7 separate regions of the Homo sapiens genome follow, and all the other regions are linked to region 4. Evidence: promoter capture Hi-C in 16 types of primary human blood cells and fetal thymus (Javierre and others, 2016). All regions are on one chromosome and are shown on one strand. Each heading gives the region's core, a stretch centred on a gene start or on the middle of the fragment in contact. The rest is flanking DNA. Distances are from core to core; before and after follow the strand shown.

Region 1 (2,903 bases), core at 105-2,604, 430 kb after region 4:
CAGTGAGCCATGATCGCACCACTGCACTCCAGTATGGGCGACAAGAGACCCTGTTTGAAAAATAAAATAAAGAAAATCCACAAATGACATTTATAAACTAATTTTTTAAAAAACTGGTGTTTATTAACCTGACATGACAACTTCATTAATCTACTGGATTTACTGAGATGTTTTCGGGACCAATTGCAATCAACAAGTTACCTCAAAATTAAGTTAAGGGTCTGTTAACTATATTAAAGCAACTCAGTCTCAATAACAGATTCAAACCTGAAGCTTAACATGGAGATGAACTATGTTTATTCAGCTGAAAGTTGTACCTTAGTAGCAGAATTTACTGCAAAGTATCACACTGATACAATGATATGCAAATTAATCAGCTAGGATTTGGTACAAATGATGTCTCTTATAAATGCAAGAATATTATAAAACAGCAAAACAAAGTAACAAATTACAGATATGCACATTATTTCCCTGATTACACACAGTAGAAAATTTTTAATGATTTTTTCAGAGGTGGTTTTATTTTAAACAGACCACTACTTCAGTTTTTAATTATCCCATGTAAAATTTTTATCTATTGCTTAAAACCACTGATACAAAAACATTAGAATTTTAAAAATGCTAAAGAATACACAAATAGCTAATATACATAGATATTTCTTTGTGGACATGTCTGAGGTGTTAATACTGTTAAGTACCAGGTTCTGTTATTAACTACCTCGCAGTAGGTCAATGAATGTCTTTGAATTCCATACGCACTTTCAGTCCACAGCACCTTCTGAGTAGTTATTCTAAGCGTACTACCACATCTAAAAAGAGGCGTACCTTTAAAAGGAACGCTCCACTAAATTTGGTATTTCGACATTTACAAAAGAGTTGTGCTCCCACTTACAAGATTTCACTAAATGAAGAATTTAAATGTTCATTTGTATTAACCATTACTCGCCGAGCATCAGGCACTGCATTCAAATGCTTTGCATAGAGCAATCTTATTTTGAGCTCCATCTCATACGAACGCTATTCAGAGGTGAGGCTAAACCACTTGTGGCTCCATGTCACAGTTTTGGTGTATCAACCTAAGTAGGTATCATTCCAGATGGGGATGAACCATGGTTGTCCAAATATAGGCTCTGTATTGCGTATATCAGTACAACAGCCACCACCACCCCTTACCTGGAGTACTGCAACAATCTCCTAAAGGGGGTCCCTGTGTCCACTCTTGTCCCCTCACAGTCTATTCTCAGTCAATACAACGGCCAGAGTGTGATCGTTTTTAAAACGCAGCTAGGGCCAGATACGGTGCCTCATGCCTGTAATCCTAATACTCTGGGAGATCGAGGAGAGAGGACTGTTTGAACCCATGAGTTCAAGACCAGCCTGGGCAACATAAAAAGAACCTGTCTCCTATAAAAACATTTTTAAAATTAGCCAGGCATGGTGGTGTGCAACTGTTGTCCTAGCTACTTGGGAGGCTGAAGTGAGAAGATCGCTTGAGACCAGGAGTCGAGGCTGCAGTCAATGATGATCGTGCCACTGCACTCCCTCCTGGGCAACAGCGAGACCCTATCTCTTGAAACAAATAAATAAAAGTAGAAGGTCCTTAAAAGTAGAAGAGGAAATTGGAAGAGAGAGCCAGAGTGATTCAATGTGAAGATCTGCCGGTTAGCTGTGACTGGCTTTGAAGATGGAGGAAAGGAGCTTTGAGCCAAGGAATGCAGGTAGCTTCTGAAAGCTAGACAAGGAACGGATTCTCCCTCGAAGGCTCTAGAAAAACAGCACTGGCAACACCTCATTTTAGCCCAGAGACCTACTTCATATTTCTGACTCCAAAACTGTAAGATAATAAACAGGTGGTGTTTTTAAGCCACTAAATTTGCATAATTTGTTACACTAGCATTAAGAAACTGAGTCTCCCTTCCCACTTTAGAAAGGGCTATAACTCTCCTAAGTTCTCAATATCTCCAACTATGGGGTAGCTGGTTTTCTGACAAATAGCTGGCACCCAAATCTAGACTGCCTGATACAAAATGATCTAATTTTTCCCACGTAATTAAGGTTGCTCTCAGGCTTGCCCTTTAAGGACGAACAATAAAAGGGTAAGGTTCTCCACTGGGATGGACGCATGCATATGGAGCAGACTGCGCAGGCTCCGTTCACAAGCACATCTAGCCGACTGCGCAGATTCTGTTCACGTGCATATCTAGCAGAATGCGCAGGCTCCAGCAGGCTTTTTTGGGGATGATGAAGAAATGAAGACCCTCTGTTTTTGGTTTTTTTTTTTCTTGCTGATGCTGGTCTAATAAGCCTTCCTTTTCTCCAATAAAGCCTATTCCTTAACTGGTGCTATGTGTAAAATTGTGGAATTCATCCTGAGGGCTGAAGAAAACAGGTGGAAACCGAGTAGGGATCTACCTTGAAGGACAACATAAGCTTCCAGGGCAAGAATATGTGTTCACAAATATATACAAAGTACTCTGAAGAGTACTACCTTCAGCAGGCACTCCACCAATATGTGTTGAATAAATGAATAAGAACTATTTCACACCATATAAAATGAACTACACATGCCTTAAAGGATTAAACATACAAGGCAAAACTATGAAACAGAAGAAAATGGTGGGGACATTTTTGTGGTCTCAGGATAGAAAAAGATTTCTTAAATAAAATTCCAAGAACATAACCGTAAGGAGAAAAATCTGATTACATAAAAATCAAGATTTATGTTCAACAGACAGGCTACAGAATGGAAAGATGTTTCCAATACCCAAAAGTGACGATGGAATAGACAATGGCCTGGAATTTGATAACCAAAAAAAGGGACAAATTAGAAAAGTAGTTAAAGCATAGGAAAAGGATATTCACATAACGGGAAACCAAAATAACTCAGGATACAAAGAAATGCC
Region 2 (2,995 bases), core at 406-2,905, 410 kb after region 4:
GACAGAAGACAGAGATTCACACCGAGAAGGACATCATGGAACTGGTAGTACTGGGACATTTCCTAATTATCCTCCCATGTATAGTGGGACTTGGATGTAGTTTCAACATAGGGGGGACTGCAGGCAGGTGGTGGCTCAGGTGAATAATCTCATACAAATATCTGAAGAAGGAGCCCTACCTCTTCAGTACTGCTGCTTCTTGAGAGATCACTGAGGATGGATAATAGAGGCTGGGTTATTAACAGTTCTGTCCCAGAATCAGTGCCTTTCGCAGATAGGCTGCAGACTTCTCTCTACAGAAGGGACCAGAGTACTAACTACACTGAGCTCAAAAAACCCTATTCTGAGAAGTAAGACTTGTGAATTCTAGAAAGTCTGTTAGAAATACCCTTACACATCATCCTGCCCATCTCCCAATTCTGAACTGAGCACTAGATTTCCAAAGCAGATGGGATTTCCCTACCCCGGCAGAGTGAAGAACCATGGCTGGATCACCAAGAAATTCCGTGAGACACTCATCTAGGCTGTGGGACTTTGTTGCTTTAAAAGACAAAGCAATGGTTCCAGAGCAGAGCTTTTCTGAGGAAGACTCATTCAACTGCATGGAAATGGAAAGATACACAAGACACCTTTGACTTCTGTTCTGGGAAAAGCCTATGAATAAGCTTTAAAGTTTGAGAAGCAATAAGAGAACCAGAAAGAGACAGCCACAACAAACAGCTGACCTGGGAAAGACTGGAAAAAACGTGGATTTGGGAAAAATGAAACTACCATCTATGCACTATCTTTGTTGTGTTCTTGAGATTTCTTATAAGAAAGTGTTTCAATAAACATGACTCACATGTTTCACAATTCAGAATCTACCTTATTCATTTCAAAACCTCTGCAGGGAAGGAAATCTGTGAAACCAAGGACAAAGCTTCAACCAGGACATTCAACTTACTTATCTAGTAAGAATGGAAATTGGAAATAAATGCTGCAAATACAATGAATGTACTAAGTCTTTTAGTATCATAGATACTTAAAAAAAACATCTGGGAGAATCCTCACAAGAATAAAATTATAAACAATTAAGAAATGCCTCTCTCCAGAGCTCATTTCTTATTCACCAGCAGAGAAAGCACTTTCAACTCCTCATCTCAAGTGATCTGCCCACCCCAGACTCCCAAAGTGCTGGGGTTACAGGAGTGAGCCACTGCACCTGGCCAGAGAAAGCACCTTGAATGAAAACTGCAAGCATTGAATTACGGTGGAAAAATCCCTCCACCAGAGCTCTCTCCTTATTGGGTATATAATAAAACAAAATGCTATCATTAACATTTTCATCCATAACTGATACAAAAGCAAAGTCAGAGTATGTTGTAGTCATGTGTTCTGAAAAATATGTGGGTCTGGCTAGCATTTCTGATATGCAAAACTGTCAAGGAATGGGTTGCTTTCGGTGTCTTAACAGTGACTGAAATATAAGATGGATTAAAATTCAAGCAAAAATAATTTACATTTGTGCCTTGTTTTCTTGGACAGCCAAGTAGTTTCCAAACTTCTCTCTCTCTTTTTTTTCCAATTGAGACTCTTGCTCTGTCACCATGCTGGAGTGTAGTGGCGCAGTCTCAGCTCACTGCAACCTCCGCCTTTCAGGTTCAGGCTATCCTCTCGCCTCAACCTCCCAAGTAGGTAGGACTACAGACACGCACCACCTTGTCCGCCTATTTTTTGTATTTTTAGTGGAGATGGGGTTTCACCACGTTGGCCAGGCTGGTCTCGAACTTCTAACCTCAAGTGATCTGCCTGCCTCATCCAATTTCTTTACATGGTCACTTAATCATAATAATGTCTGAAGCCTTACAAGTTATAAGTGGAAAAACTTATAACCAATGGCTTCCAATGCCAAAAGGTGGCTGCATACACTTCCTTCCCTCTTAAGACTCTATTCAATTAATAGTAAAGACTTCAAAAAAGATTTAATCTCATCAATAATGAAGAGAATGGGTAGGAAGCCACCTGTAAACAAATGATCTCTTCCGTTTCTAGATGAGCAGTAAATGTAAGAGCTGATCAAACAGAAGGCAACAAATGGAATATATGAAGAGGGCTAAGTGTAGGGCACAGCATCTGATTTAAGAACTTGGATTCTAATGTTAGCCTGGGCTTGAATCCTGGCTCTGCCACTTCCTAGCTGTGACTTTATGGGGCTCTCAAAGCCTCACTTTCCTATCTAAAAAATAAGCAAAGTAATGACTTATGGTGTTACTATAGGAATTAAAGAACATATAGAGCTTTCAGCATAGCATTATACAGTAAATAAATGTTAATTATTATTGCTTATTACTTATCATTATCAATAAACAACTAAGATGAAAACAAAGTTACAAGGAAATAAAATTAAGCTTAAATTACAATGTAAAGAAATAACTGTAATTTCATACATTTTCGGAGAAGTTCCAGATGACTCCAGAGAATTTCTCCCCGAGGAACCCGCTGAAAAAAATCTTCTTGGTTGAGACTACATAATTCTCTCCCCGAAATGTTGAGTGTGGTGAGGTCTATATCGGTCATGCTGAATTCCTTCATTACCCAAACCACCCAATGCAGGACTTGGTCTGTGGACCACTGTATGGGATCTAGAAAGAAAAATATTCACTTTAGCCTAGTTCCATTTTAGATACTGTGTAAATTTACAGTTAACTTCTCAATACACACACATACACACAGATGTTTTCTTTCCCCAAGTATATGAGGTAAACTTACTATATGAAGCAAAAAAAAAAAAAAAAAAAAAAATTATGCTGTAATTTTTTCCTCAGCTCCTTTCCAATTTCTTAATCTAAATTTCTGATGCAGTCACTTGGTTCAACCTCAGCTGGAACTGTATCAAGAAAAACAAAATGCAAAACTGCTCTCCAGTGGGCCAAATGAAAGAATAAAATATGAGATTATTCTGGAGAGAATAAAGTAAATTATCCAAGTTTAAAAAAATTTGCAGTTGCATTGAAAA
Region 3 (2,857 bases), core at 202-2,701, 410 kb before region 4:
ATGTTTCCCATTTTTTTCTCTTTGTATGGTGAAATATTTGTATGTTCCAAAAAGACAAAATTGTCATAATATGAATGACATTTATATTTGTTTATTACTACAGAATAAATTTCCATGTTTTAAGCAAACAGGCATTCCATTAGTTTTTCCATATCATTCTCTGTACTGCAAGCAGAAATAAGATATCATCCACTAGAAGAATTTCCAGTTGTATTAAAATCAATGCATCAGACCTTCAATTGGAAAACAATGATAGTCATCAGATTTCAAATCTCCACATAGAACCTCTCACCAACAAAAGAAACATACATTTACCTAGTTATAATTCATCTATTTAAACGGTATTTGTTGTTACATGCTAATGTATATCCTGCTACCCTACGGAGTTATGTATCTAACAACACAGAAATCGAAATGTATAATATGAAACTGCAAAAGTATTATTATTGAGGGTAAGTTCCTCTACAATCTGAGAGTAGAAAAAGACTTTCTGCCCAAAACTTCACAACCCAGGCACCACAAAAAGAAAATTATTACATTTGACCTCTTTAAAATTAAATCCTTTGTATGGCATGAACACCATAAGTGAAAGAAATTGCAACATATACCACTTTAAAAAATCTAACATCCCTAATATACAAAGAAATTTTTAAAATTGAGGGAAAAACACCAAAATCCTAAAGAAAAATGGGCAAAGATTTGAATAAGTAACTCACAAAAAGATTATAACTAACAGTCCTGTGATGTTCAATTTCACTCATAAGAGAAATGCAAGAAAAATCAACTCTTCCATCAAATTGGCAATAAAGAAAAAATCCAAAAGCTCAGCAATATATTATGTAGGCAAAGTTGTAAGGAATACATTACTGCTGGGAATGCAAAATGTCACAGTCCCTCTAGAGCAGGATTTGGCAATATTTAGCAAAATGCGTTACCACTTCTGCAAATTTACCCTGAGATATAGCTCCAACAACAAGAAAATACATATTTTCAAGGTTATTAAGGTTATTCATTGCAGCATTATTTGCTATTGCAAATACCGATAAGTAAATATTCAAACATATGAGAAAACAATGGTACACATTTCGTGTAAACTATGGAGCAACAATAGATGAATGAGGACAATCTCTAGGAACTGATATGGAATGATCTCCTGGATATATCATTCAGTACAAACAAAAAACAAAAATAGTGCAAAAGAACATATACAGTATGCTATCTTCCGTGTAAGAAGGAAAGGGAAATAATGAAATCTGTACCAATAACTCTAATTTCAATCCATCACCACGAGGTTCTTCCTTGCTGTTACCCATTCCACAATCCTATAATACATCTAAAATAATTTCAGAATTGCTTTGCATATATCACCACAACAAGCTACTAAAAAATCTGCTTATCTTTATTAAAAAAGAAACACATTAGAGAGAAACTAGAAAATCATGACCACCGGTTATGTTAGAGGAACAGGGAGACTGGAATGGAGGCATACGGGAAGGATTAACACTTCCCTGAATATAGCCTTTGGTATTTATTTTTTTTTTTTACTTTTAGAAGCTCTCTAATGTTCTACATATTCAAAAAACAAGTCAACAATGATGGGAGAGAAAACAAAGCAAACAATAGCAGCACCAATAGCAGCAACCTAAGTAAAACCGAAAGCAAATGGAAATAAATGAACCCAAATGCATTTCAAGTGAATTAAAGTTGGCAGGGGTAGGGGAGCACTAACTCAAGTAAGTGATGAACACAGTAACTGACTATACGCCCTCAGTCTTGGGTGGAGTTGGGGGGAGAATTAATTGAAAGCACAATCTAAATTCTTTTTAGTGTTTTTTTTTTGTATTGTTATTTTATGTTGTGGTATGGACAGAGCAATTCAATTCTGAAACTGTTTTAGATGTATTACAGGAGTGAGTGAAGAAATAGCAAGTGTAAAAAGAGTTACAAATATGGAGTGAGAGAAGTCAAGGAACAGCCCTATGGTGATGATATATATATATACACATTATATATATATATACACAGCTACATATATACATATATATATCTGAGTGCCCGTGTGTGTGTGTGTGTGTGTAAAACATGCATATATTTCCTAGCTCTTATACTGAAAGAGACAAGATACAAAGGCACTCCAGCAGTAACATGCACTTTGATTTCTTTCTTTTCCCCATTCTTTTTTTTTATTATTATTATACTTTAAGTTCTAGGGTACTTTGATCTCTAAGACCATTATCCACTAAAAGGACCCAGAACTCCTCAGAGAAATGACTGATTTCAGGGCTGGAGCAGAGAAGATTCAAAATGAACCTGGGATATCTTTTATGTCAAAAAGTTAAGAAATTCCCAAAACACTTGTGGGGTTGTGTCACAAGGACACAATAGCTAGCTTGAAGATGCTCCACTGGCCCAAAATGGGACATTTTAAGATTAATGAATTATAAACTCTTGAAAAAGTAGGAATTCTTAAGTCCATACTCACAATCAATCAATCAATGAGGGAGAGGCATTCTTATTTTGAATGACGAGCAACAACTGGTGAATAGACAGAGGGAAAGCTGGAGTTCAAAACATGATAATTTGCATCCATAACAGTAAAGATTGCTTCAAGCAAAAATTACTAATGTGTGTTAAACCTAAAGGAGGAAAATTTGCTGAAGAGCAGGATATTTGCACGGCTTAATGTCTCCCTGTAGATTGCATATTGGTAGGAAAGGAAAAATTAGCAAATATAGGTTGGAAGTTTCCAACAGATTAACACACATACTGAAATATTTAGGGGGAAAGAGCTACAATGTGTGCAACTTACTCTTGAATGATTCAGAAAAACAGTAATATGTGCACAGATAGAGAAAAA
Region 4 (3,012 bases), core at 283-2,782:
TTTCCCTGCTGTCCCAGCTTCATGTCACTTACTTGCTATTAGATTTGGGAGTTCATTAGCTTCATTTTCCTGATGTATAAATAGGAATAATAGTAACAGCCTCTTTGGCTTTTGTAGGAAGTAAATGACATGAAGCGTATAAACAAATACTGCATGACAATAAATATTTGTCCTTATTTGTTGAGGACATCCAAAGGACATTCAGGGGCAAAAGTAATCCAAGAGTCAAGACTGAATGCCTAGTGCGGGAAAAGACACACAAGACAACATTTAGGGGAGCTGGTACAGAAATGACTTCCCAGGAAGGAAGTCTGTACCCCGCTGGCTGAGCCATCCTTCCCGGGCCTAGGCACCCTTGTCAGCGCAATGAGCAAGGGAGAGAAGGCAGGCTGCAGTGCAGCCCTCAGAAGGGCCAGAGCACTCCCTGGCTTCAGTCCTTCGCTCCAAGCCCTGTGTGGAGTGGGCTGTGGCTTGGTAACTAAATGCTACTTCAGGTCAAGAGCAGGGGATATATCTGGGCAGTTCTAGAGCATTCTAAACTATCTGGACACTAACTGGACAGTGGACGGTTTGTGTTTAATCCAGGAGAAAGTGGCATGGCAGAAGGTTCATTTCTATAATTCAGGACAGACACAATGAAGAACAAGGGCAGCGTTTGAGGTCAGAAGTCCTCATTTACGGGGGTCGAATACGAATGATCTCTCCTAATTTTTCCTTCTTCCCCAACTCAGATGGATGTTACATCCCTGCTTAACAACAAAAAAAGACCCCCCGCCCCGCAAAATCCACACTGACCACCCCCTTTAACAAAACAAAACCAAAAACAAACAAAAATATAAGAAAGAAACAAAACCCAAGCCCAGAACCCTGCTTTCAAGAAGAAGTAAATGGGTTGGCCGCTTCTTTGCCAGGTCCTGCGCCTTGCTCCTTTGGTTCGTTCTAAAGATAGAAATTCCAGGTTGCTCGTGCCTGCTTTTGACGTTGGGGGTTAAAAAATGAGGTTTTGCTGTCTCAACAAGCAAAGAAAATCCTATTTCCTTTAAGCTTCACTCGTTCTCATTCTCTTCCAGAAACGCCTGCCCCACCTCTCCAAACCGAGAGAAAAAACGAAATGCGGATAAAAACGCACCCTAGCAGCAGTCCTTTATACGACACCCCCGGGAGGCCTGCGGGGTCGGATGATTCAAGCTCACGGGGACGAGCAGGAGCGCTCTCGACTTTTCTAGAGCCTCAGCGTCCTAGGACTCACCTTTCCCTGATCCTGCACCGTCCCTCTCCTGGCCCCAGACTCTCCCTCCCACTGTTCACGAAGCCCAGGTGGGCCGTCGGCCGGGGAGCGGAGGGGGCGCGTGGGGTGCAGGCGGCGCCAAGGGCGCGTGCACCTGTGGGCGCGGGGCGCGAGGGCCCCTCCCGGCGCGAGCGGGCGCAGTTCCCCGGCGGCGCCGCTAGGGGTCTCTCTCGGGTGCCGAGCGGGGTGGGCCGGATCAGCTGACTCGCCTGGCTCTGAGCCCCGCCGCCGCGCTCGGGCTCCGTCAGTTTCCTCGGCAGCGGTAGGCGAGAGCACGCGGAGGAGCGTGCGCGGGGGCCCCGGGAGACGGCGGCGGTGGCGGCGCGGGCAGAGCAAGGACGCGGCGGATCCCACTCGCACAGCAGCGCACTCGGTGCCCCGCGCAGGGTCGCGATGCTGCCCGGTTTGGCACTGCTCCTGCTGGCCGCCTGGACGGCTCGGGCGCTGGAGGTGGGTGCCGCGCCTCGGAAGGCGGGGGGAGGCTGCACGGTGGGGACGCGATACCCCCCAAGACCTTAACCCAAGTCTTTAATGCAGAGAAGCCGGGGGTCCGTCAATGGGACCCCTCTCCTCTCCGCCCCCGCTTGCGGACGTCCAGCGCATCCCCGCTTTCGGCCCAGCCCTGCCCCAGGGAGTCGCGCTCCGGCCCGCTGAGAGGGAGCGGGCGAGGCGCTGGTCTCCCTGGTTCCGCGCCAGCCCGGGGCGAGAAGGGTAGGGGGCGACCCTGAGCCCAGACCCCGACTTAGTCCCTGCCTTGGAAGCGGGGGTCGGGGGAGGCGAGAGACATTCAGACAGGGGGGAAGGGGGAAGGAGCACGTGGGGAAAACCGAAAACGCAGCGTCCCTAAAGCCAGTCCTTCGCTCTTGAATCGTTGCCCTTTCCTTTCTCTTGGGCCCTGGGGAGGAGGAGGAGGAGTCGGGACAGCCCAGGAAGCTAGGAGCCCCTCGCTTTTCCCTGCGTTCTCCGCCTCGTTTCACCTTCCTCTCTCACCCCCATCCCCCTTCCTTGCTCCAACCTCTTTTCGCGGCTGCTGGCGGCGGCAGCCTGGGTGCGACCCTAGCCCGAGCCGGCGTCGGGGTCGCGCACCGCCTTCCACAGGCAAACTTTGTGCATGTCCGCGTCTCCCTTTTGTGTAACTTGCGAGAAATGGGAGGGGTCGGAGACCCATAGCCACCCCGCGCCTTCCCCAAGTCTGGACGTCCCGGGAGTTCGCTCGCACCCTAAGCTCTGTCTGAGAGGCAGAAGGTCCGCGGGAACAAAAGCCGCGACACCCCGCCCTCGCCGTGGGCCGAGCCGCGTTAGTCTCAGTGCGCCACCGAGGCTCCCGCCCGGCTCCCTTCCCGGGGCTGCGCGTCCGCCTGGGAGGGGGCAGAGACGCTGCCGGGGCTTCTGGCGGAGCCTCGGGGCCCCTCTGCTTCCCACCCTCGGATCACCTCCGAGGCTTAATTCTGTGCTGGGCTGTAAAGTCCTTGGCGGGGAGGAAATAAGGCGGAGAGTGGGATGTGCGTCTGGAAAGGGCAGTGGCGGATGGTGGGGAGGCACGGGCTCTGTCCTGTGCATCCAAGGAGGCGTTTGTCTGATTAAGGCGCGGCCTCTTCCCTGGCAGCTCTGGGGACTCTGGTTTAGTTCCCCTGGGGGCACAGGATGCTGGGGAGGGTCCGAAGGGTCTTTTTTTTAGGGTGCAGATAAAAGGATCGAATTGAGTGAAGATTAAGACGGAGAAG
Region 5 (3,156 bases), core at 523-3,022, 470 kb after region 4:
TATTTATTTCAATGAAATTTCTTAAAGAATTTGAAATCAACTTATATCTTGAGATATACAATTCCTAACTTAAAAATATCTTGTCTGGGCGCGGTGGCTCACACCTGTTATCCCAGCACTTTGGGAGGCCAAGGTGGGTGGATCAGGAGGTCAGGAGATTGAGACCATCCCGGCTAACACGATGAAACCCCGTCTCTACTAAAAATACAAAAATTAGCCGGGCGTGGTGGCGGGAGCCTGTAGTCCCAGCTACTCGGGAGGCTGAGGCAGGAGAATGGTGTGAACCTGGGAGGTGGAGCTTGCAGTGAGCCGAAATTGCGCTACTGCACTCCAGCCTGGGCGACACAGTGAGACTCCGTCTCAAAAAAACAAACAAAAAAAAATCTTAAAAACATGCAAAGATACTATAAATATCCGTTCACATTGAATATCTCTGTCTCGCTGCACTGCACCACTCCAAGGATGCCTCTTGCATATTCTGTGGTGCTCCCTGGAATGTGCAACTAGGCAGTTCTGCCTTTTCTCCCTAGGTTTGCCAAGGTGTTTCATAAGCCACCTGCATGTCATCCTGAACATTTTCTATAGCAGAAAATAAATGAACAATATTCTCCAGAGTTTGTTAAAACTTGCTAGGAGAGGGCCGGGCACAATAGCTCACACCTGTAATCCCAGCACTTTGGAAGGCCAAGGCAGGCAGATCACTTGAGGCCAGGAGTTCGAGACCAGCCTGGCCAACATAGCGAAACCCCATCTGTACTAAAAATACAAAGATGAGCTGGGTGTGTTGGTGCACACTTGCAATCCCAGCTATTTGGGAGGCTGAGACATGAGAATCACTTGAACCTGGGAGGTGGAGGTTGTATTGAGTGGAGATTTTGCCACCACTGCACTCCAGCCTGGGCAACAGAGCAAGACTCTGTCTGAAAAACAAACAAACAAACAAAAAAACAACTTCCTAGGAGAAACAGTATCTCATAAATAAACTCCATAGCCATAGAAAGTTATCTGCCAAAGAAGGGTGAAATTCACTTACTTGAAAAGTAGCCTTTCCTCTGAGCATAGCATACACCAAGGCCACAAACGGAAATCACTAAGGCCACAACTACTACGGCTGCTATGATGCCACTTATGTTGAGATCATCTGGAATGTAAAATAAATTACGCATAAATATATGTGGATTACACGGACAGATGCAGTCATTAAATTGAAAAGGTTCAAAAAAAGATCCCCTTTGCAGCTATATCATAAAGCATACTTTAACGATTGTGAAGCCTGTTCAACTAACTCACTTCTAAGACATGGTTCAAAATTGATTAAAAATATTAACAGAACTTAAGCTTTGGAAAAATACTAAATTTTAAAAACTTCTCAGATTAAAAAATAAAATGTATTCTTTTGCATTCATTTGGAGATGTGTAATAATTCACAGGATTAAAAGACTGGAAGCAATCTTTGAAGTTCAATGAGTTCAAGTATTCTACTGCCACTCCCTACCCCACGTCTTACTTAAAATTCTCCTACATCATCAACTGTGTCAATTTCACAAATAAAGAAAAACTCAACGTCAAAGAAAACACATGGTGCCAGGCATGTTGACTCATGCCTGTAATCCCAGCTACTCAGGAGGCTGAGGTGGGAGGACTGCTTGAGGCTAGGAATTTGAGACCAGCCTAGGCAACATAGCAAGAATCCATCTCTAAAAAATAAAAAAATTAAAAAAATTATCCGGGTATGGTGGTGCATTCCTGGAGTCCCAGCTACTCAGGAGGCTGAGGTTGGAGGATCACTTGAGCCTAGGAGTTTCAGATTATAGTGAACTATGATTGCACTACTTCTCTCCAGTCTGGGTGACAGAGCAAGACTGTCTCTTAAAAAAAAGCACATGTCATTGTTATTCTGTAAAACTAAGTGTAAGAAATACGTTCCTTCTTGAATTATATGGGTGTAGATATACAATTATATGTATATGGGTGTATACACACATACACAGTCATATACATATATGCAACTAAACTGTCATCCCATTTATGAAAAATGAATTAAATTCTCTGAGGCTTTTCCTATGACTGTTAAGGCATCCGTCCTCTAATGTAATGCAACTGGATTTTTTGAACCCAAGTTTGGAAATAACTACTGTGAAGTTTTTTTCTTCTTCTCAGATTGATTCTGTTGCCTAATAATTACATTATTAACCTTCCAAGCTTAACATTTCTGCAAATTGAGAATTTTATTAAAAATACTCTCATTCAAGTCATTAATAACATGATGAACATGGATTTGTTTAGGAAACAACTATGTAACAGGCTAGCAGACACCTCCTGTCATACAACACAATTTATTAACATTCTCTGAGCATGGGATTCAACTGTGTGTGGATCCACCAAAATATTGTTTGGACCATATTTCTCCATCTTGTCCATGAGGATTTTATGAGCCACACTCTTCTGCCATTTAGATACTTCCCATGTATTTATTAAAGGAGCAATTCTTCAAAGAGTTCCCATTTTACAAAGCAAGTTTTAATTAGCCTATGATTAAATAACCTAGAGAAAATATTACATAGCATTTTCTCAAAAATAATTTAAATATTTTAAAGCAATGTACATTTTGGAAATGATCTTTTTAGAGATACTGTTTAAGTGAATCTGCTTATCATAAAAACTTCTGGTCTCGAAATTCTTTCCTAATGCCAAGTGTGTTATTAATTTTCTTAAATACCTCCAAAATATTAATTGATTTTTTTAAAAAAGAAAACTTGATAAGTCTTTTGAAAGGTTAAGTAATTTGACCAGAGTAGAAAACATTAATTATTGCTTGGTATAAACTCAGTTTGCTTGGGTATTGAGAGGTCAATAAGATTCAGCTTTTTATTTACTTGGATTAAAAAGAGCAGAGAGAGAAAAAAATCTACAGTAATCATAATCTTAGGCAAAGTCAAATCAGTAAGTGAAATTCCTGAGAACCAAAGTGTACCTTCTATTTACTTTGTAGTAGTCATTAAATCTGACATCTATGAAGCATTCAAAGTAAGGGCTATTATCTGACAAAAAAAAAAAACTGTCTTGTAGTTTGTCAATGAATTTGACATCTATGAAGGAAGGATTCACCCTAAAAGAAACTACTGACAAAAAATTGTCTTGTTCTGTAAGTGCTAA
Region 6 (2,984 bases), core at 16-2,515, 450 kb after region 4:
TAGAGACAGGGTTTCACCATGTTGGCCAGGCTAGTCTCAAACTCCTGACCTCAGGTGATCCACCCACCTCGGCCTCCCAAAGTGTTGGGATTACGGGCTTGAGCCACTGCGCCTGGGCCAAAGGGAATAGATTTTTATTATGGCATACTGTAGCTGAAGGCAAAACCTGCTAGGGAATACCTTTTTGAAAGATCTACAAATATTTCCTAATGACATAGATATGATTAATACGATGTGTAGAGACGGAATTGGGGAGGGCAGTACAGTAGGAAGAAACAGCCCACTTTTCTTCAAATGTGGCTAAGCAGTGACAGAACAGTTGAACTACTTTTATTTAAATAATTGCAGGCTTTGGAACAGAGAATCGGGTGTCTAATTATGGCACTATCTAAAGGTAATCGAGGAAGTCTAGTTGTCCCAGGGTCTTCCTTTAACCTCCCCTGAAACAGCTCTCCTCCACCTACCTGTGGCTGCAAAGCCATCTTGTGTCAGCTGGAACTGCCAGTCAGTAGAGAACAAACTGACCTTTTCTGCATATGCTTCCTCTCCCTGTCTCTTTACCTCCTTCTTCATTCAAAGTTTAGTTGAATTTTACCTTTTATCAGCTAACACAGTTATCTCATAACACATTTTTTACTTGTCTCACAACTGTGGAATTGCTTGCATGTCCCAGTCTCTTTGTTCATTATTGAAACAGGGTTCTGTTTGACTGTAAGAAGCATCCTATTCTCGTGCCCTATATTACAGGGCTGTGCATTTACATTTAAATTTTGGTCAGGCAAGCACTCCCTGTTTTCCAACTGAACCTCTCGTGGTGCTGTGAGTCACAGATCTTAACCAAGGCTTCGTCTTCCTCAGAGCCCCTTCCTCTTTTTGGCTAGGCTGCTCCAACCCTGCAAATGCTGGCCTTTGTGCAGCACTTCAGCCTGCCAGGTCACTCCTTGTCCTGCACTTAACCATTCAGAACCACCTTATGTGATTATGACAAATGATCTCAGCCTTGTGGTTATTTAAAATGGCTATTTTACCCCTTGCCTGGTGTTATGAAGAATTGTGTTTCCCCAAAATTCATACTTTGATTGAATTGAAGCCCAACCTCCAATACCTCATAATGTGACTTTGGAGACAGGGACTTTAAGTTAAAATGAGACCTTTAGGGTAGGTCTTAATCCTATCTGACTGGTGTCCTTATACGAAGAGGAAATTTGAGTTGAGGAGAGGTAAGGGGAACTAGAAAGGGACATGTGTCTGTTACTTACATAGCACTACCTTTAATAGTAACCCAGGAAGGCTAGGCAATTTTTACTTATTTAACATTTAGTGTAGGCTTTTTTGTTTGTTTTTTACTATTTCTCTGATTGTTGCTGCTCCTGGTGTAGCAGCCTTCCAAATGCTAGCTCTCTAGTAAGGTGCATGTATGAGTTCTTGCGGGGCCCTGTGGCTGAGGTCTTCCCAGTTGTACAGATTCCATTCCCTTAAATGGCAGGTTCATGCCAACTCCCTTCCAAACACCCCTTAGCTCCCACTGGAATGGTAAGTACACACTGTTTCCAATGTTTGGTCTGGTGAGACACTGGCAAGAAGGCTGAACGCCAACTACTTCCAATGGTGCCTACTGGATCCACGGGACACTCATGTCCTTGACCTAAGAAATCTTGGGAAAACAGGTATATTTCACCATCCTCCCCTACTTTGCTCTTTTTTTTTTTTTTTGAGATGGAGTCTTGCTCTGTTGCCCAGGCTGGAGTGCAGTGGCGCGATCTCGGCTCACTGCAAGCTCCACCACCCGGGTTCACGCCATTCTCCTGCCTCAGCCTCCCGAGTAGCTGGGACTACAGGCACCCGCCACCATGCCTGGCAAATTTTTTTCGCTCTCCTTTTTTTTAAGAGATGGGCTTTTGTTCTGTTGCCCAGGCAGTGGCTTGATCATAGCTCACTGCAGCCTTGAACTCCTGGGCTTAAGCAATCCCCCCAGTTCAGCCTCCAGAGTGGCTACAGGCTACAGGCATGCACTACCACGCCTGGCCCTCCCCCTCTTCTTGATATTTTTTTCCAGCTCCCTTTCCACTGGCTCAAATAGCTCCTATTTCCTTGGCAGGTGCCTTCAGTTTTTGCAAGTGATGTCTTAAATATTCTCTTTACTTCCTTTGGGGGTGACCTGGGGGAATAGTACTCCTTATGACTTTGGCAAACTCATTCTCTGTCTCTTTCCATCCCCTCGTTCCTTCCCATCCCAAATCCATCCATACACACTTCAGCTTATATGGACTGTGTGATGAGGTGAAGGGTAAAGAGTAGTGGTGGACTGGAGTAATTATTTCAGGGTGGCTGTCTCTTCATCAACAGTGAAGGGGTATTTATACCCAATGTATTTTTTCTTTTCTTTTTTTTTTTCTTTTCTTTTCTTGAAACAAGGTGTCACTCTTTTGCCCAGGCTAGAGTTGCAGTGGTGTGATCACAGCTCACTGCAGCCTCAACCTTCTGGGCTCAAGTGATCCTCCTGTCTCAGCCTCCCGAGTAGCTGGGACTACAGGTGCATGTCACCACACCCAGCTAGTTTTTCAGTTTTTTGAGACAGTCTCACTACGTCACCCATGCTGTTCTCGAACTTCTAGATTCCAATGATCCTCCCACCTCAGCCTCCCAAAGTGCTGGGATTACAGGTGTGAGCCACTGCGTCCAGCCTTCATTTTCCCTAGAAAGTGAGATACTTGTTTCTAGTCTTTAGGCAACAGAGAAAGTCCCAATTAACATCCTGTTATATGAACATAGCGTCTTTGTAAAACTTTTATTCATTCTCTTTGGTATATATTATCCTAAAATTTAGAAAGAAAATGTTTCTTAACCTACAGTAACTTCAATTCAGCAGTAGTTAAATTCCATAGTAAATATTTGGAAAGAAAGTTTGAGAATGAGAAATTAAGAAGTTGGCTGGGCGCAGTGGCTCACACCTGTAATCCCAGCACTTTGGGAGGCCGAGGTAG
Region 7 (3,289 bases), core at 790-3,289, 400 kb before region 4:
AGTCTGTTGTACTCTGCAAAAAGCATCTATTGTCAATATATTGGCTTCTCCCTTGTGTCTAAATCGTTAGATTTTGTTTCTGTTTTCAAATTTTAAAAGTGGACTTAAGTACTTACTGAATCTCACAAAGGTAATTATTTTTCGCTTTCATTCCTTCATACCACAATCCAGAGGTAAGCCTCAAGGGTCATGTTTGACAATCTGTAATGTAAAAATAAAATTGAGGAGAAGAAAATACGAACTTTTCCATTTGTTCCACAAAAGCCACGCATAATTGTTAATGGTGACTGAACTTTGCTGCCTTTTAATCACATCTCTTTGTAAAGTATCATCTTAGCAGGGAAGTGATTTAAAAGCAATGTAAAATTTCCTTTCTGGATAAATCAGTTACATGGACGTGCAGACATAAATATAATATTTTGTATTTTTAATGTTATAGCTTTGATAGGGAAACAAAAGTTTTATATAATTTATATAATAATTAATATTACCTTCAGGAATTGAGCTGGAAATGGATTATTTTGTGACTCTTAAATGTACAACATAAATTATCAGACTGTACTTAATGTTTTCCTAATCATGTATCTGAAACTTATATATCCATCATAACTTATACGACTAAGTCAGTGACAACCTTTGCTTGTTAAACATAAATCATTTAGGTGGAATAAAGAATACTTAAAAGCTAGAGTAATTTTTATCCAACATTTTTAGTATAATTTTTCTTGCAGCAAAATATATGGAAAAAATAGTAATTTCTGATCCTTTATTCAGAAAATAACTCTTCCCCCTTCACATAGTACTGTTTTATATCTTACTGATTCCTCAATCTGACATTAAGTAAACTCTTCATTATTTACAAAATAATTGTCTCTGGGGATTTCTTCCTATAACCAATCATCTTTTCATCCAGATGAATTTACAGGATGCAGACTCATTGTGTTACCACACATATGCAAACTGTAATTATACAGGTAAAAAAAAGTCACCAAATGAAAAGCATACAATGCACTATCATGGAAAAATATACATCATTTTGAAATTATTCCTTTTTGGTATTATATATGCCACTAAACCTTCTATTGATTGAGCTCAGTTGGGAATACAAGACCCTAAAGTAAGAAGACTCTTTTTTTTTTTTTTTTTTTTGAGACAGAGCCTCACTGTGTCGCCCAGGCTGGAGTGCAGTGGCATGATCTCGGCTCATTGCAACCTCCATCTCCTGGGTTCAAGTAATTCTCCTGCCTCAGCCTCCTGAGTAGCTGAGATTACAGGTGTGCACCACGACACCCAGCTACTTTTTGTATTTTTAGTAGACACGGGATTTTATCATGTTGGCCAGGCTGGTCTCAGACTCCTGACCTCAAGTGATCACCCGCCTCAGCCTCCCAAAGTGCTGGGATTACATGCGTGAGCCATTTTGCCTGGCCAAGAAGGCTTTATCATTTAAAAATTATTATAAAAACTCTATGGACAAATCCAGCGACTGAGTAGTTTAATTGTTCTTTCATTCCTTCCTTCATTATCTCATTCCACTAACCCTGACTGGTAATTATGGTGCTTGGTGTAGAAGATTCAAGAGTTGTCTTTGTCTTTACAGCTTAGAGTCTAATGGGGAAGAGAGGCTAATTTAGATCCTTACAAATGTTTTTGAATTCTGAGGACGAAAATGAAGATTTAAAACCACTAAAGGGTGGTCATTGGCTGATTAAGTTGTGAAATAGAATAATTTTTCTTGAAACTGTGATTTTACAACTATAACTGCTCACAAGTGGTTTTTGTTTTGTAGATGATTGCCTTGCTCAGTGTGGCAAAGATTGCAAATCTTACTGCTGTGATGGAACCACGCCCTACTGTTGCTCCTACTACGCTTATATTGGGAATATCCTCTCGTGAGTATTCGTCAGATTTGGCAATACTGATGCTCTTCCTCTTGTCCAGTTGTCCAGTTATGTCTTTTAAAAGTACTAAGTGATAGTTGTGGGCAAGAGATTTCAAGATTGGTTATTGACATGAAATCTTTACTGGAGATATTAACACATCGCTATCTAATGGACTATATTGTTTGACAAAATATGCAAAATAATATACAAAATAAATTGCCTTCATTATAAAGGAACTAAAAAGAGTTATTCTTTTATTGTTTTACTTTGTGTACTATAATAATGTTTTAAGTAGACATCATTTTATTGATAATTTTATAACATCATCAGTGATATGGTTTTGTCTGTTTTGTGCAAGTTAAGATTTGTTATTTAATTATAGCCAGTTTATTTTGTCATCATGTATTAATTTAATACATCCAGTAGATGTCAGGAAAAAGAGAGGTTATGAATAAAAAACAGTTGAGACATGAAATGTCAGTTCTCACATGATACACATACAGCAACTTCAGGAAACAAGTTTAGAGCCTAAGACAAGCTAGGTATGAGTAATGCAAAGTGATAAACAACAAGGCACAAAAACACAAATGAAATATGTACATGTAGACTCTGTGAAGCATTTCCTTGTAACAAATTAGAAATTTATTTTAGAGCCGATTCTGGACAAAGGGAAATATGGAAGCTGGACCTGCCTCCAGGGCTGTACGGCTGGAAAAGTGTGCACTTGTCAATTCCTCAAGAGAGGAACCCACAACTGAGAAACGAGGGTTGAGAATTGGGAACATAAGAATTTCTTGAGTCAAAATCCCCATGGCTTTCAGAGAGCAGCAACGGTTGTGCCTCTGTCTTCTGTTCTTGTTTTTCAAGTCAGTATCATGATGATTTGGGAAATGTTCTGTTTAATTCATGCCCTACAAAGGCTCAAGTGGAAACGGGAAACATTAGGCGCTAAGTCATATGTGCCTGGCTGTTTTAGGGAAGTGTCCGTTGAGACGGCTTGTTACACATCCTCCATTTCCCGAGAATAGAAAACCTGGCACCACATAAACTTTCTGGAATCAGTGTTGAGGCTCCTATTAGAGATCATGACTCTGAGAATACAAAATAAAAAATCATACTTTGGGATACTCTTGAACACTATAATAGATGTGAAAGAAATGTCAAGCTATAATTAAAAACCATGTATAGAATTTAAGCCTTCCTTGAAATGCAAATAAGCTCCAATAAAATGTTTGAATTTTTCTTCATGGATGGTTTGGTAGAAAAGAAATTAAGCCCACTTTTTACATTAGAAAACTGTCAGGATGATTTTTTACAGTAACTTATCAGCTCAAATTTAAATATATAATGATGTTTACAGTGGCATATTACTTCGCAGTATTTAAAGTAACAAAATATATTATTAA

Evidence for each region. Contacts are between HindIII fragments. The CHiCAGO score rates a contact against its expected background, and 5 or more counts as called.
Region 1: a contact is called between a fragment that was not itself captured here and the fragment with the promoter of APP in region 4, in 12 of 17 cell types (fetal thymus, non-activated CD4 T cells, naive CD4 T cells and 9 more). The highest score is 18.9, in fetal thymus.
Region 2: a contact is called between a fragment that was not itself captured here and the fragment with the promoter of APP in region 4, in 7 of 17 cell types (fetal thymus, naive CD4 T cells, endothelial precursors and 4 more). The highest score is 7.6, in fetal thymus.
Region 3: a contact is called between a fragment that was not itself captured here and the fragment with the promoter of APP in region 4, in 1 of 17 cell types (endothelial precursors). The highest score is 10.2, in endothelial precursors.
Region 5: a contact is called between a fragment that was not itself captured here and the fragment with the promoter of APP in region 4, in 1 of 17 cell types (fetal thymus). The highest score is 5.8, in fetal thymus.
Region 6: a fragment that was not itself captured here is called in contact with the fragment with the promoter of APP in region 4 in 4 of 17 cell types (erythroblasts, fetal thymus, megakaryocytes and 1 more); the score reaches 6.7 in erythroblasts.
Region 7: a fragment that was not itself captured here is called in contact with the fragment with the promoter of APP in region 4 in 1 of 17 cell types (megakaryocytes); the score reaches 5.8 in megakaryocytes.

Annotation. Positions count from the first base shown.
Region 1 is chr21:25,738,303-25,741,205 of GRCh38, reverse strand. The region is part of intron 1 of GABPA (GA binding protein transcription factor subunit alpha); the gene reads right to left. Among named protein-coding and RNA genes, the nearest start is that of GABPA, 4.8 kb to the right of the region's middle. The HindIII fragment of the contact is 2,157 bases long and covers 276-2,432 here.
Region 2 is chr21:25,757,636-25,760,630 of GRCh38, reverse strand. GABPA (GA binding protein transcription factor subunit alpha) reads right to left here. Exons shown (of 10, transcript NM_002040.4): 6 at 2,427-2,621. Among named protein-coding and RNA genes, the nearest start is that of GABPA, 24 kb to the right of the region's middle. The HindIII fragment of the contact is 1,468 bases long and covers 922-2,389 here.
Region 3 is chr21:26,582,779-26,585,635 of GRCh38, reverse strand. No RefSeq gene overlaps it. Among named protein-coding and RNA genes, the nearest start is that of CYYR1, 11 kb to the right of the region's middle. The HindIII fragment of the contact is 3,264 bases long and covers 1-2,857 here.
Region 4 is chr21:26,169,290-26,172,301 of GRCh38, reverse strand. APP (amyloid beta precursor protein) reads left to right here and starts at 1,532. Exons shown (of 18, transcript NM_000484.4): 1 at 1,532-1,738. The coding sequence starts at 1,682. It overlaps APP-DT (APP divergent transcript), which reads right to left and starts at 1,435. Exons shown (of 4, transcript NR_186396.1): 1 at 1,250-1,435. RefSeq lists silencers at 1,180-2,009, 2,510-2,779 and enhancers at 1,797-2,321, 2,820-3,012. The HindIII fragment of the contact is 2,642 bases long and covers 1,047-3,012 here.
Region 5 is chr21:25,703,964-25,707,119 of GRCh38, reverse strand. It overlaps JAM2 (junctional adhesion molecule 2), which reads right to left. Exons shown (of 10, transcript NM_021219.4): 7 at 1,034-1,141. The region is part of intron 1 of LOC124905002 (a long non-coding RNA gene); the gene reads left to right. Among named protein-coding and RNA genes, the nearest start is that of ATP5PF, 29 kb to the left of the region's middle. The HindIII fragment of the contact is 864 bases long and covers 1,341-2,204 here.
Region 6 is chr21:25,720,694-25,723,677 of GRCh38, reverse strand. No RefSeq gene overlaps it. Among named protein-coding and RNA genes, the nearest start is that of ATP5PF, 13 kb to the left of the region's middle. The HindIII fragment of the contact is 4,581 bases long and covers 1-2,984 here.
Region 7 is chr21:26,564,869-26,568,157 of GRCh38, reverse strand. CYYR1 (cysteine and tyrosine rich 1) reads left to right here. Exons shown (of 4, transcript NM_001320768.2): 2 at 1,790-1,892. It overlaps CYYR1-AS1 (CYYR1 antisense RNA 1), which reads right to left. Exons shown (of 4, transcript NR_135515.1): 4 at 1-201. Among named protein-coding and RNA genes, the nearest start is that of CYYR1, 6.8 kb to the left of the region's middle. The HindIII fragment of the contact is 9,781 bases long and covers 1-3,289 here.